Linked DNA regions of Homo sapiens: regions 1 and 3 are each linked to region 2. The links are contacts of gene promoters, found by promoter capture Hi-C in human tissues and cell types (Jung and others, 2019). All regions are on one chromosome and are shown on one strand. The core of a region is centred on a gene start or on the middle of the fragment in contact, and the rest is flanking DNA. Distances in the headings are between cores, read along the strand shown. Region 1 has its middle 6.3 kb from the start of MIR4289. Region 2 holds the start of CTSL (cathepsin L). Region 3 has its middle 100 kb from the start of LINC02834.

What was found. Contacts are between HindIII fragments. The study calls those that stand out against the background at their distance.
Region 1: a contact is called between a fragment that was not itself captured here and the fragment with the promoter of CTSL in region 2, in 1 of the 25 tissues and cell types used here (lymphoblastoid cells).
Region 3: a fragment that was not itself captured here is called in contact with the fragment with the promoter of CTSL in region 2 in 1 of the 25 tissues and cell types used here (mesenchymal stem cells).

Annotation. Positions count from the first base shown.
Region 1 is chr9:88,737,827-88,741,426 of GRCh38, forward strand. No RefSeq gene overlaps it. Among named protein-coding and RNA genes, the nearest start is that of MIR4289, 6.3 kb to the right of the region's middle. The HindIII fragment of the contact is 3,956 bases long and covers 15-3,600 here.
Region 2 is chr9:87,724,660-87,728,571 of GRCh38, forward strand. It overlaps CTSL (cathepsin L), which reads left to right and starts at 1,460. Exons shown (of 8, transcript NM_001912.5): 1 at 1,460-1,739; 2 at 2,935-3,070; 3 at 3,368-3,490; 4 at 3,591-3,737. The coding sequence starts at 2,945. RefSeq lists promoters at 1-1,533, 1-1,505, 1-1,533, 1-1,432, 202-1,533 and 7 more, cis regulatory regions at 449-451, 517-519, 676-863, 861-868, 940-1,090 and 11 more and an enhancer at 1,251-1,772. The HindIII fragment of the contact is 7,957 bases long and covers 1-3,912 here.
Region 3 is chr9:86,602,796-86,606,707 of GRCh38, forward strand. No RefSeq gene overlaps it. Among named protein-coding and RNA genes, the nearest start is that of LINC02834, 100 kb to the right of the region's middle. The HindIII fragment of the contact is 4,548 bases long and covers 1-3,912 here.

The DNA of each region.
Region 1 (3,600 bases), core at 743-3,242, 1.0 Mb after region 2:
CTAATGTACAATCCAAGAATGGGTCCCTGAATAATTTACAGTTCCCTGTAACTGAACAGAAACGGGTAAAAGCAGTCAGCGGCTAGCACTTGCTACTGTGTCAGGTACTGCCCAGACAACTTTCCATGGATTGACCCATTTACCCTCCGAAAGCCCTAAGCAGTGTCCTCATTTCACAGATGATGTGCAGGCAGGTCAGAGGCGGGGGGCTGGCTTGGAGCCTGCCCCTATGCCACGTATGCTGCCCTGGCCCATGGATGCTCCCAGACCAGGCAGGCGACCGCGTGGAGTCTACAGCTGCTTCCTGTGCATTTCACAACGCCCAGTACAGCACTCAGGATGGGATTTGATTCCTGAAAATAGCCTTTGTTAACTACTTCAGCCTATACACAATATTTTAAGTGAAGGGGTGGAAACAAGTTTTTGAAATATTTTTAATGTGTATTAGGATTTCATAAATTTGATAACAGAAAAAGCCTTTTTGTAGTTGTTTTTTGTTTTACCTTTTTTCCTAAGTAATCCTTTGAAATGTGGGCATTTAAAGAAGAAATTAAAGTTTCTCTGGACACAAGATTCTGCTTTAGAAGAATTTCTCCAGAGAGTTCTCAAATCGATTCTTTTCTTTCCTAGAAAAATGTAAACAACCACAATTGTTGGGAACCATCCTGTGTTGGAAGGTTTTGCCATTGATGGTCTGTCCAGGTGATTTTAACTTTCTCTTATATGTTTCTTCATTCATCTTTTAGCACCTGTGATGATATTTTTGGGATTAAGCAGCAGATAATTTTTCAATCGAAGGAGTGAGTGACATGAAGACGACGCTGGTTTGGGCTCAACTTCAAGAACTCTCCTGTAGCAGGGCATGGCTTATTTACAATGGAAGGAGCCTGACTGCTGGACGGCACCAGCAGAGAGAGGTTGCCCCCTCTGATGTAAAAGCTGGAACTCCTTTCCCGCCCTAATTCTAAACCACTTACTTTAAAATGACTTCCATGTGGTATGGACAGAAATGCAAATGGAGCAATCACATTTCCTTTGCAAGTATTAGGCTGCACATTTTTTTTTTAACAGAAAGAATGTCAATAAAAGATCTAGGTCTCTGATAACAACACATGGGCCCAATTATTTCAGAAACCAGTTTTATCCTACATGATCCAGAGCACTGGGGACTTTCCAGCATTTTCCATTGTGCAGTCTCTCAAAGTTCAGACTTAGGATTCTTACGTAAAGCATCACTTTTTCACTTAACCCATCCTATTCCCCTGCCCCCAAATTCCAAATGTCTGTTTTTATTTCACATTTTTAAGCTTACTTAATTGACAAATAATAATTGTATATATTTGGGTACAGTGTAATGTTTTGATATATTTTTACATTATGGAATGTTTTAATGTATGCTTCATTAACGGTGAAATGATTTCTGCTAACTATCCCTCATTTTGCAATCCTGAGCAGTTAATGGGAGAAAACAAAAACAACAATTTATGCATCTCTAAGTAGCATGAGTTCAAACGGGCCTTGTCGGAATCTAAGTGAGCCATCTGCCAGTTAAAAGTCGGACTTTCTGTCTTTTTTAACCATGGAAGAGAGTTTATTTTCCAGCTGAACACATTTTTAAAAGGGCTTTTAAGAAGCTAATCATATTAGGGGTCGTCCAGATATCATTGCCTGGGGCACAGGGGGCCACCCAGCCTCCTGTCTAGATAGAGATAGCTTCTCTCTGGAATCTCTTTGTCTTACCCCTTTCTGATGGCCACACCCCAGGGTGCTCTAGGACCAAGATCTCTGAAGCACTGGCCCTCCCTCCTGGCTATCTTGACATTTCTCTCCTCTCTCTTCCCCAATTTCTCACTGTTGCTCTACCCAGAAACAAATTTGCTAATAATCATTTTAAAAATGCACATTTTTGCACACCTCCCCACAGTTGGAAAAACAACCCTTTATGTCAAATGCACATGTGAGCTTCCAAAGCACAGTCATATTTTGTTCTCACTTAATCTTCACCCAAACCCAATGAAGCTACTTACAGTCACTGCCTGCTTTCCAGAAATAAAGAAACGAGGCTCCCAGGACAATGAGATCAGCCCAGGGATGTGCCCTTTGTATGTGGTAGAGCCATCTGTGGACACAAGGTGCAAATGGTATTCAGGATGCATAAGTCACTCGGTTCAGGGGCCTTGCCACATCTAGCTGAGTCTTCCTTGTGCTGTGGTCTCTTGCCCCCAGTCCGTCTCAGCTCCTGCCACTCCCTGGACCCCAGTCACATGGTTGATCCCCAAATGTAGGGAGGACATTACATCCTTGAAATACATGGTTACTAAGGATGTGGAATTGTAATGTGCCAGGTGGGGGCAGATCCAGGACATAACATTATAAAGGCAAACTCACCTGAGAAAGGTTACTTAGAATGAGAAAAGAAATCACAGTAAATTATGTATTTTTGAACAAATACCATGGATTTCACAGTATCATAAAAATAACATTTTTATAAGTTGACACACCTCTGAAATACTTGCTTCTTGAGGAATTGTACTGCATTGGTGGTGATTTGCGTGTTTCATCAGGAACTGTCTACTTCTTGAGGACAAGATTCATTAGAATTCCTAATTTGCCAATTGCTACTCTGTGGTGGGTAAGATGTGCCTTTTAAAAGTAATGCTATGGTGCTTTGCCTGACAAAAGAGGAGTTCTGATAAGTTTTATTGCACGTGACTTTCATCAAAATGGAGAAAAATATGTTGTGTTTATAATTAAATTTACTGCACTTTAAGCATTTTCCTGACCAGAAAACTTAGCTTTTGCCTAGACATCAGTGAGAACTGCTTACTCCTTATAAATGTAAAGACTGAGATAATTTTCTATAGACTAGCTCCTGGCCCTTTGAAGCATGTTTCTCTTCCACCACCCACATGTATGGAGCTGTAGGAAATAAGAGTACCTTCACACTGAGACACGAGAGGACTGGCACAGTCTGCAGGGTACCATTCCACGAAGTCGTTCCTCTGGATTGGCTAGCAGTAAGTTACTTATACATGGAAGTGACTAAGCTGTGAAAATATCCCCAACAGTCCAATTAAGCATGTCCCTTGAACCTTCCCATTAGCTGGATCTCGAAATGCCTGCGGCCACTCTGATGTCCCCCAACATGAGGGACAGTGTGAGTGAAGGGCAGTGGGAATGAGCATTGGAAACCAGTTGCCATGACAACACTGCTCTTTTCAAATCTCACAGAAGCAAGAACACGCAAACACGTTGTTGGGGGTCCCACCTATGGCCTTAGAAGCGTCCTGTGCAAGTGATGGGTTGGGAGTGAACACCTCATCAGCTTCAGAGTTGGAGGGGGATGCTCTACGCAGGGGCCGGGGGTTATGGGTGAATTGTGACTTCCCCACAAATTCATTTGTTGGACACCTAACCCCAGTACCTCAGAATATGACTGGAGTTGGAGATAGGATAAAGAGGTGATTAAAATGAGACTGTCAGGGTGGACCCTAACGCAATATGACTGGTGTCCTTGTCAAGAAGAGGGGATGAGGACACATGCATGGAAGGATGACCATGTGAGGGCACAGGGAGAAGACTGCCACCTGCAAGGCAAGG
Region 2 (3,912 bases), core at 210-2,709:
CAGAGCCAGACTCCGTCTCAAAAAAAAAAAAAGAGGAATAATCTCCAAAATAGTAAACAAATTCCTGCAGACAGGAAATATAATGGTAGATACCTGAGCTAGGAGAGGGGGAATGGGGAACTATTATTCAATGGATACAGTTTCAGTTTAGGAAGATAAACAAGCTCTGGGAATAAACAGTAGTAATGGTTACACAATGTGAAGGTACTTAATGCTACTGAACTCAAAGTTGGTTAAAATGGTACTTGCTATGTGAGGTATATTTTACCACTTAAAAAACTATAGGTGATTGTGCTTCTAAAAGAGTTATCAGTTTAATCTTCAATAGAAATCAATGGACTTTGTTCATTTTTAACAAAGTCAAAATATGCATACGAAAAGGTTATGGGGTAAAGGCAGAGGTAATTATTTTTTTCCCCGAAAGGTATTTTCTACAATGAATGTTTTTATGTAATAAAAAATGAAATGACAAAAGTTTAGAATGTTTGTGGGTTTTGTTCCTTAAATCCTTAATTACATAAATTAATATCTACATTATACAGATTAAGATACATATTTTTCCTCTATCTACAACATTTCTCCATTCTCTGTATCTTAAATCCTGACATTAAATGTCATTAAATTTCTTAAATCTCAAGAGAACGACTTGGTTACCAAGGAAGATATAATCCATAGCCTAGAGAGTGGGCGAATAAAAGCAGCTTCTAATGTTCTCAACTGCTTTTCTCCTGTCAACCAAATGTTTCTGTAAATAACTCATTTCTGTTGGTTTTGGGTAAGACGTGGGAGAAGGAAGAATCCCTGAATGGAGGAGTCTGGAAAGGATGCTTGACAAAACGCCCGCGCTCTCTGGAGACGCAGCCAGTCTCCTCCCTCCTAGGGTCTGGTCTTGACGATAGCATCTCGTGTTTTGGGGATGCCTTTCCTTACCAGATTCTTCTAAAGCCCAGCTGCACCCACCCTTAAGTGGGAGATAAGGCTTCTGCCCGCGGGCTCTGCGTTCGTCCACCCGGCCCCACGTTTGCTGTGGACTAAACAGGAGCCACTGGACTAGAGTACACTTGACTCTCGGCTCTGCGGACCAAAAATTCCAGGACTAAGGAATAGCAAGGTTAGGCTGAAACAGTCCACACAGGGCTTGCGGTAAACGTCTTTTCAGGAGCCACTCGCCCAGTGCAGTAAGTCGTGTACTTAGTTGACTCGAGCGCTCCAGGGAGACGCCCGACCCTACTCTGCGCCGCCCCGGGGCACCAGCTCTGCTTCCTCCAGGTCCACTGAGGCAGGCACGCCCAGCTCTGGGACAGTCAGTAAACAAGCCACGAACCGCGCCAGGGATCAGAGCACCCAGAGTCCCCGCCCAGCTGCCGGCACAGCCAATCGCAGCGCAGCCAGGCGGCGGGGCGGTGCCGGCCGAACCCAGACCCGAGGTTTTAGAAGCAGAGTCAGGCGAAGCTGGGCCAGAACCGCGACCTCCGCAACCTTGAGCGGCATCCGTGGAGTGCGCCTGCGCAGCTACGACCGCAGCAGGAAAGCGCCGCCGGCCAGGCCCAGCTGTGGCCGGACAGGGACTGGAAGAGAGGACGCGGTCGAGTAGGTGTGCACCAGCCCTGGCAACGAGAGCGTCTACCCCGAACTCTGCTGGCCTTGAGGTGGGGAAGCCGGGGAGGGCAGTTGAGGACCCCGCGGAGGCGCGTGACTGGTTGAGCGGGCAGGCCAGCCTCCGAGCCGGGTGGACACAGGTACCGCAGCCAGGCCGCGCCGCGCCGACTCAGGGCCTGGCCCGGCCAGACAGGGAAGCTCAGTCCCCGCACGCCAGACAGCGGTACTCCTGCTGGCGTCACCGCAAACATCCTCTGACCGCTACAGCCAGTGTGTGGCGCAGGCGTCATGTCCCCGGCCCTGCCACGCCTGGAGCCCTGGAAGCTGGCTGCAGGGCGCTGGCTTCCCGCGTGCGGCCATATGACCCCGTCCCTGATTTAGGGGAGCAGTTTGGGGTGTCGGCAGCACAGGCCCAAGTGAATGAAGGAGGGAGCAGTGCGTGCTCTCCTTCCCAGTTTTTCCTGGGAAAGCATTTCAGAAAGGTTTCATTTAAGGAGAGGTTGGGGCGGCGCGGTGGCTCACTCCTGTAATCCCAGCACTTTGGGAGGCTGAGGTGGGCGGATCACCTGAGGTCAGTAGTTCGAGACCAGCCTGGCCAACATGGTGAAACCCCGTCTCTACTGAAAATACAAAATTAGACGGGCGAGGCGGCGCACGCCTGTAGTTCCAGCTATTCAAGAGGCTGAGGAAGAATGGCTTGAACCCGGGAGGCAGAGGTTGCTGTGAGCCGATATCGCGCCGTTGAACTCCAGCCTGGGCCACAGAGCAAGACTCCATCTCAAAAAATAAATAAATAAATAAATAAATAAATAAATAAATAAATAGGAGAGATTGGAAAACTTATCTCAGCTTTTGGTGTTTGTTAGTCAGGAAGATGTGTGAAGGCCTCCTAACTCTTGGGGATCTCTTTGTCCCTACTTGGGAATCCCACCTTATCATTAGTGAGGTTTTGCCTGGGCACGAAACCTGGATTTTTTGCGATTGGTACAAAACCTGGATCAACCGTTTCCCGGTTTCCTAGTTGTTGCCTTAAGCTTCTCACACACAAGGTAGTTTCATACCGTTCTCATAACCTAAATTGTCATCGCATAAACTGTTTCAGCTCCTACAGCTCTGGACAGGCTGCTTTTCATTTTGGTGAGTCCATCCAGTACCTCCACGTGCCCTGTTTTTCTCCAGGCACATCCTTGGCCTCTTCCACAGTCCTTGGGTAAATGCTTGGGAGAATAATTTAAATATTTTTATTCTACCATGGTGGCCCTAATTTTTCAGGGGGCAGTAAGATGGCTTTTTAGGATTGGTCTAATCAGATCCTCATTTTTGTTCCCTTCCTAGGTTTTAAAACATGAATCCTACACTCATCCTTGCTGCCTTTTGCCTGGGAATTGCCTCAGCTACTCTAACATTTGATCACAGTTTAGAGGCACAGTGGACCAAGTGGAAGGCGATGCACAACAGATTATACGGCATGGTTAGTGAAACTTCCCCAGAAAGAATAGTCCTGGCTGTTGAGAAGTTTTAGTCAGAGAGTAGCTTCTAGAGGCCAGCTTTTACCAATAGCCTAATGTAATAACCTAATGGCGTGGATTATGAGCACAATGTGGACATTCATCCTTGTTGTGTCTCAGTTTGGAGAACAGCATCCCCAGAGGTGTCAAGCCTTCCCTTGCCATGGTTTCTCTTCCATCTCTGTCTGCAGATTCACTTGGTGAGGATGAGTTGGGTTTTAGGTAGAAGTAAAGAGCATCAGTTACATGTTTGCCTCTAGAATGAAGAAGGATGGAGGAGAGCAGTGTGGGAGAAGAACATGAAGATGATTGAACTGCACAATCAGGAATACAGGGAAGGGAAACACAGCTTCACAATGGCCATGAACGCCTTTGGAGACATGGTAAGTGTGCTGTGGACTGCCGAGCTCTGTGCTTCCTCTCTTCGGTTCTTTACTAAGGTAATCTCTTGCTTTTCAACATTTTATTTCCTTTTCCTTGAAGACCAGTGAAGAATTCAGGCAGGTGATGAATGGCTTTCAAAACCGTAAGCCCAGGAAGGGGAAAGTGTTCCAGGAACCTCTGTTTTATGAGGCCCCCAGATCTGTGGATTGGAGAGAGAAAGGCTACGTGACTCCTGTGAAGAATCAGGTGAGACAGTGTCAGGTTCAGACCTCCCATCTTCCCAGGAAAGCCAAGAAGTGATTGACATCTTTGTTTTGGTAGACTTTAAAGTGATGTACAGTTCACTTTTTAACAGTATTCAGATGTGTGAGCTGTTGTCAAAGTCTTATTATTTTTTTTTTGTGGATGACAGCTTTTTTTA
Region 3 (3,912 bases), core at 686-3,185, 1.1 Mb before region 2:
AAATGACAACTCTAGGGGAGGCCAGAAAAGGTGGTGCAGTGGAATTGTTGGAAATGGGTGGGTGTCCAAGAATCAGACAGAGGAAGGAGAGGATTCCTAAGTGGGGTGGAGGCAGCTCCAGGAAAGAGCTGACTCAGGAATGAAGGTGGCAGGCATGGGAAACCATGAAGCAGAAAAATTGCAGGCTGGTGGAAAATGCCTTTGGGTAGGTAAGAAATGAAGGGTAGAATGGTTAATTTTATGTGTGTCAACTTGGCTGGGCCATGGTGTCCAGAAAAACATTATTAGGATAAACATTTTGGATGTTTCTGTGAAGGTGTTTTTTTGGGGTGAGATTAACATTTATGCTTGGTCTGACAAATAAGATGTCAGTGGAAATGGCCTTTCCCTGGTGCCAGCTGTGGCCAATTATTTTTTAGTGAGGCAGTTTAACAACTGCCTGACCATCATCTGATTGTCACCTGACATTTCTGATGGGGGACGGGGTGGGGGCTGGGGGGAGCCCTCTCCTGCCTTGCTCTCATGTCTAACTAGTGACCTACTGTAAGAGTATGTAAGATGAATTGAAAATGAAAAAAGTCCGGAAATAACATAGAAGCCTGAAAGATTGGTGCATGAATTCATTTATTCATTCTGTCAATCAAGCATTAAGTCTTGAATATATCACTGTGGCATACTTAACGTATGTCAGGGTAATAGATGAGAACAAGAGTCAGGTCCTTTGCCTTCGTAGGGCTCTTAGAATTGAGTGAGGGAGACACACATTAAACAAACACACATTAATATTTACTTAAAAAGTATAATAAACACTATTAAAATGAAGAGACTGCTCATAAGAACAAAAAATAAATTAGTGACATAATTCTCAAGAAGGAAGAGAAAGGGTATATTTAAGAGAGATAGCAAAGGAATAATAACAGGGTTTGGAAATATTTTGGGAATCAACATGTAGGGATTTGAAGAGTCAAAGATGGCCCCAAGGTATCTAGGCTGGGAGGAAACTGTTCTGTCCAGTTCCCTACATTCTGGACTTTGATGATTGTATCTGCTGGTGTCATTTGCCATGTTCTTCTAGCCCTGTGTTTCCTGTAAACTGTTAGCTTCACCTGGAGCCTTGATTAGATTCAGGTTCAATGTTTGTGGCTAGAATGTATCACAGATGGGGGCTCTCTCCTCCCTATTGCCTCACAGTAGGAGGTGACTACTATTTGATAGCCATTGTTTGAGGTTAATGTTGATCAGTGGCTTAAGGTATTGCCAGCCTGACCCATCCATTCTACAGTTCCTTATCAGTCTTTCACCTGATGGTTCTATTAACCACTGATGATCATTAAGGGCTGGAAAAGGATGACTTTCTAATTCCGTGATTCCGTCTGTATTTATTGGCTAGAATTCCCTCACTGCTGTCCCAAAGCAGAACAACTAGGCATTTATGAGGGCATATGAGAGGGATTTGCCCTTGGGCCCTTGTGGGAGCCGGTGAGATGGTCTTTGTGCCTGGTGTTGAAACAGTTGGAAGGGACAGAGCATCAAAGTGGGGACAGCAAGGACAAGCTGGGACCCACCAGCAGGAGCAAGACCATGGGGATGGACTAGAGCTCTTGTCAGTCTCTCAGCTCTTTCCACCTCAATGATGTGGGTGGTCTCTAGCAAAGAAGGTACCTGGCTCAGGGGTTGGAGAAGGTGAAGGAGAATCTGGGGAAATGGAGCAGCTGCAGGCCCAGCTGCTGCCTGTGTCAATAGGAAGTTCCACAGAGAGAAGCGGGAGCTGCAGTAGCACCTACGAGACCTCCACCAACCTTCTGAGTGTAATATTATCAGGCTGCTTCACTTCCACCTTCCAAATCTCTCACAAAATGTCTTTGGTGGCCCTCCTTCAATTCTGCTTAGTCTTTATCTCAATCACATGAGCAGGATGCCCCATTTCTTTCTTGCTGTTATATCAATTGGGCATTACAGCTGTAACACCAGCTCTAACAAGGATTCTTTGCACCAAGTTAACAATGCTTAAATATTATTCCTTTCTTCTGTCATTACAACAACAAAGTTTCATAATTAGGCCTTTCCTGTAGAGTCACCATTTTGTTATGAAGGGGGCAGACTTGAAGTAGTAAATTATAGTTTTAGTGAAAACACATTTTTCCACCAGGGTGAGGATATGTGGTTACAACACTCCCTCAAATGAATAAAAACCCAAACAAACCAAAAATTCCTGTCCCAAAGTATCAGAAAATGGATCTTTCTGTGAACTCACTAGTGATGGTGGTAAGATGTGCAGATATAGTTTATTGCTGATGCTGAATCATATACAAGAAACACACCATCTCCTAAAGACTATGCTGGATTTCAAGCATTCTTTCAGGTATTATAGTTGAATGTAGCAACAACAATTAAGGTAATCTAATTAGAAGCTTAGAATACTCCTTAATTCGCATCTCTGTGGTGCCTTTTGCAGAAGAAATTCCACTGCTCTCAAAGGAGGTTTCAAATCCTTAGAAAGGTGATTTCTATTCATTGGTTTAATTTTGATTCTTAATCTCCTCTCGGAATAATTTCCACACTTCTGAAAGTTGACTTCTATTCTGCCCTAACTAGCTCTGTGATCATACTCATAGGCTCCAGAGCCCCACCTGTCACATCTTGAAATGATAGGGTTGGACATGGATGGTTCTTAATGCTTCTAATGGCTTTAACGATATGTGTGACTATGACAGATTAAATGACCACTTTCCCATAACCATCGGGTTTCTCTCTCCATGCTGCCAGAAGACAAATTTATGGCCCCATGTGACCTATAATTAGTACTAAGCTTATTTCTGGCTCAACTTAATACATACTTTTGTTTTCTCTTTATTATTTCTCTTATCTAGAGCTTTTTCATGCTCTTTCATTGTTCTTTATGTTACTCCTGCAAACTATCTTAAATAAACTTTGGAAAACAGTAGGGTATAAATAAATACGCATTTATTCCTATTTTATAATACAGAATTAACAATACAAGATTATAATTATGAAATCACTTCCCAATGACTCGATGTAGAAAATTGAAAATGGATTTCTTTCTTTCTTTCTTTCTTTTTTTTTTTTGTGAGCTGGAGTCTCGTTCTGTTGCCCAGGCTGGAGTGCAGTGGTATGATCTCGACTCACTGCAACCTCCGCCTCCCGGGTTCAAGTGATTCTCCTGCCTCAGCCTCTCAAGCAGCTGGGACTACAGGCGCATGCCACCATGCCCGGCTAGTTTTTTTTTTTTTTGCTTTCTTTTTTTTTTTTATTATGCTTTAATTTCTAGGGTACATGTGCACATTGTGCAGGTTAGTTACATATGTATACATGTGCCATGCTGGTGCGCTGCACCCACTAACTCGTCATCTAGCATTAGGTATATCTCCCATTGCTATCCCTCCCCCCTCCCCCCACCCCACAACAGTCCCCAGAGTGTGATATTCCCCTTCCTGTATCCATGTGATCTCATTGTTCAATTCCCACCTATGAGTGAGAATATGTGGTGTTTGGTTTTTTGTTCTTGCGATAGTTTACTGAGAATGATGATTTCCAATTTCATCCATGTCCCTACAAAGGACATGAACTCATCATTTTTTATGGCTGCATAGTATTCCATGGTGTATATGTGCCACATTTTCTTAATCCAGTCTATCATTGTTGGACATTTGGGTTGGTTCCAAGTCTTTGCTATTGTGAATAATGCTGCAATAAACATACGTGTGCATGTGTCTTTACAGCAGCATGATTTATAGTCCTTTGGGTATATACCCAGTAATGGGATGGCTGGGTCAAATGGTATTTCCAGTTCTAGATCCCTGAGGAATCGCCACACGGACTTCCACAATGGTTGAACTAGTTTACAGTCCCACCAACAGTGTAAAAGTGTTCTTATTTCTCCACATCCTCTCC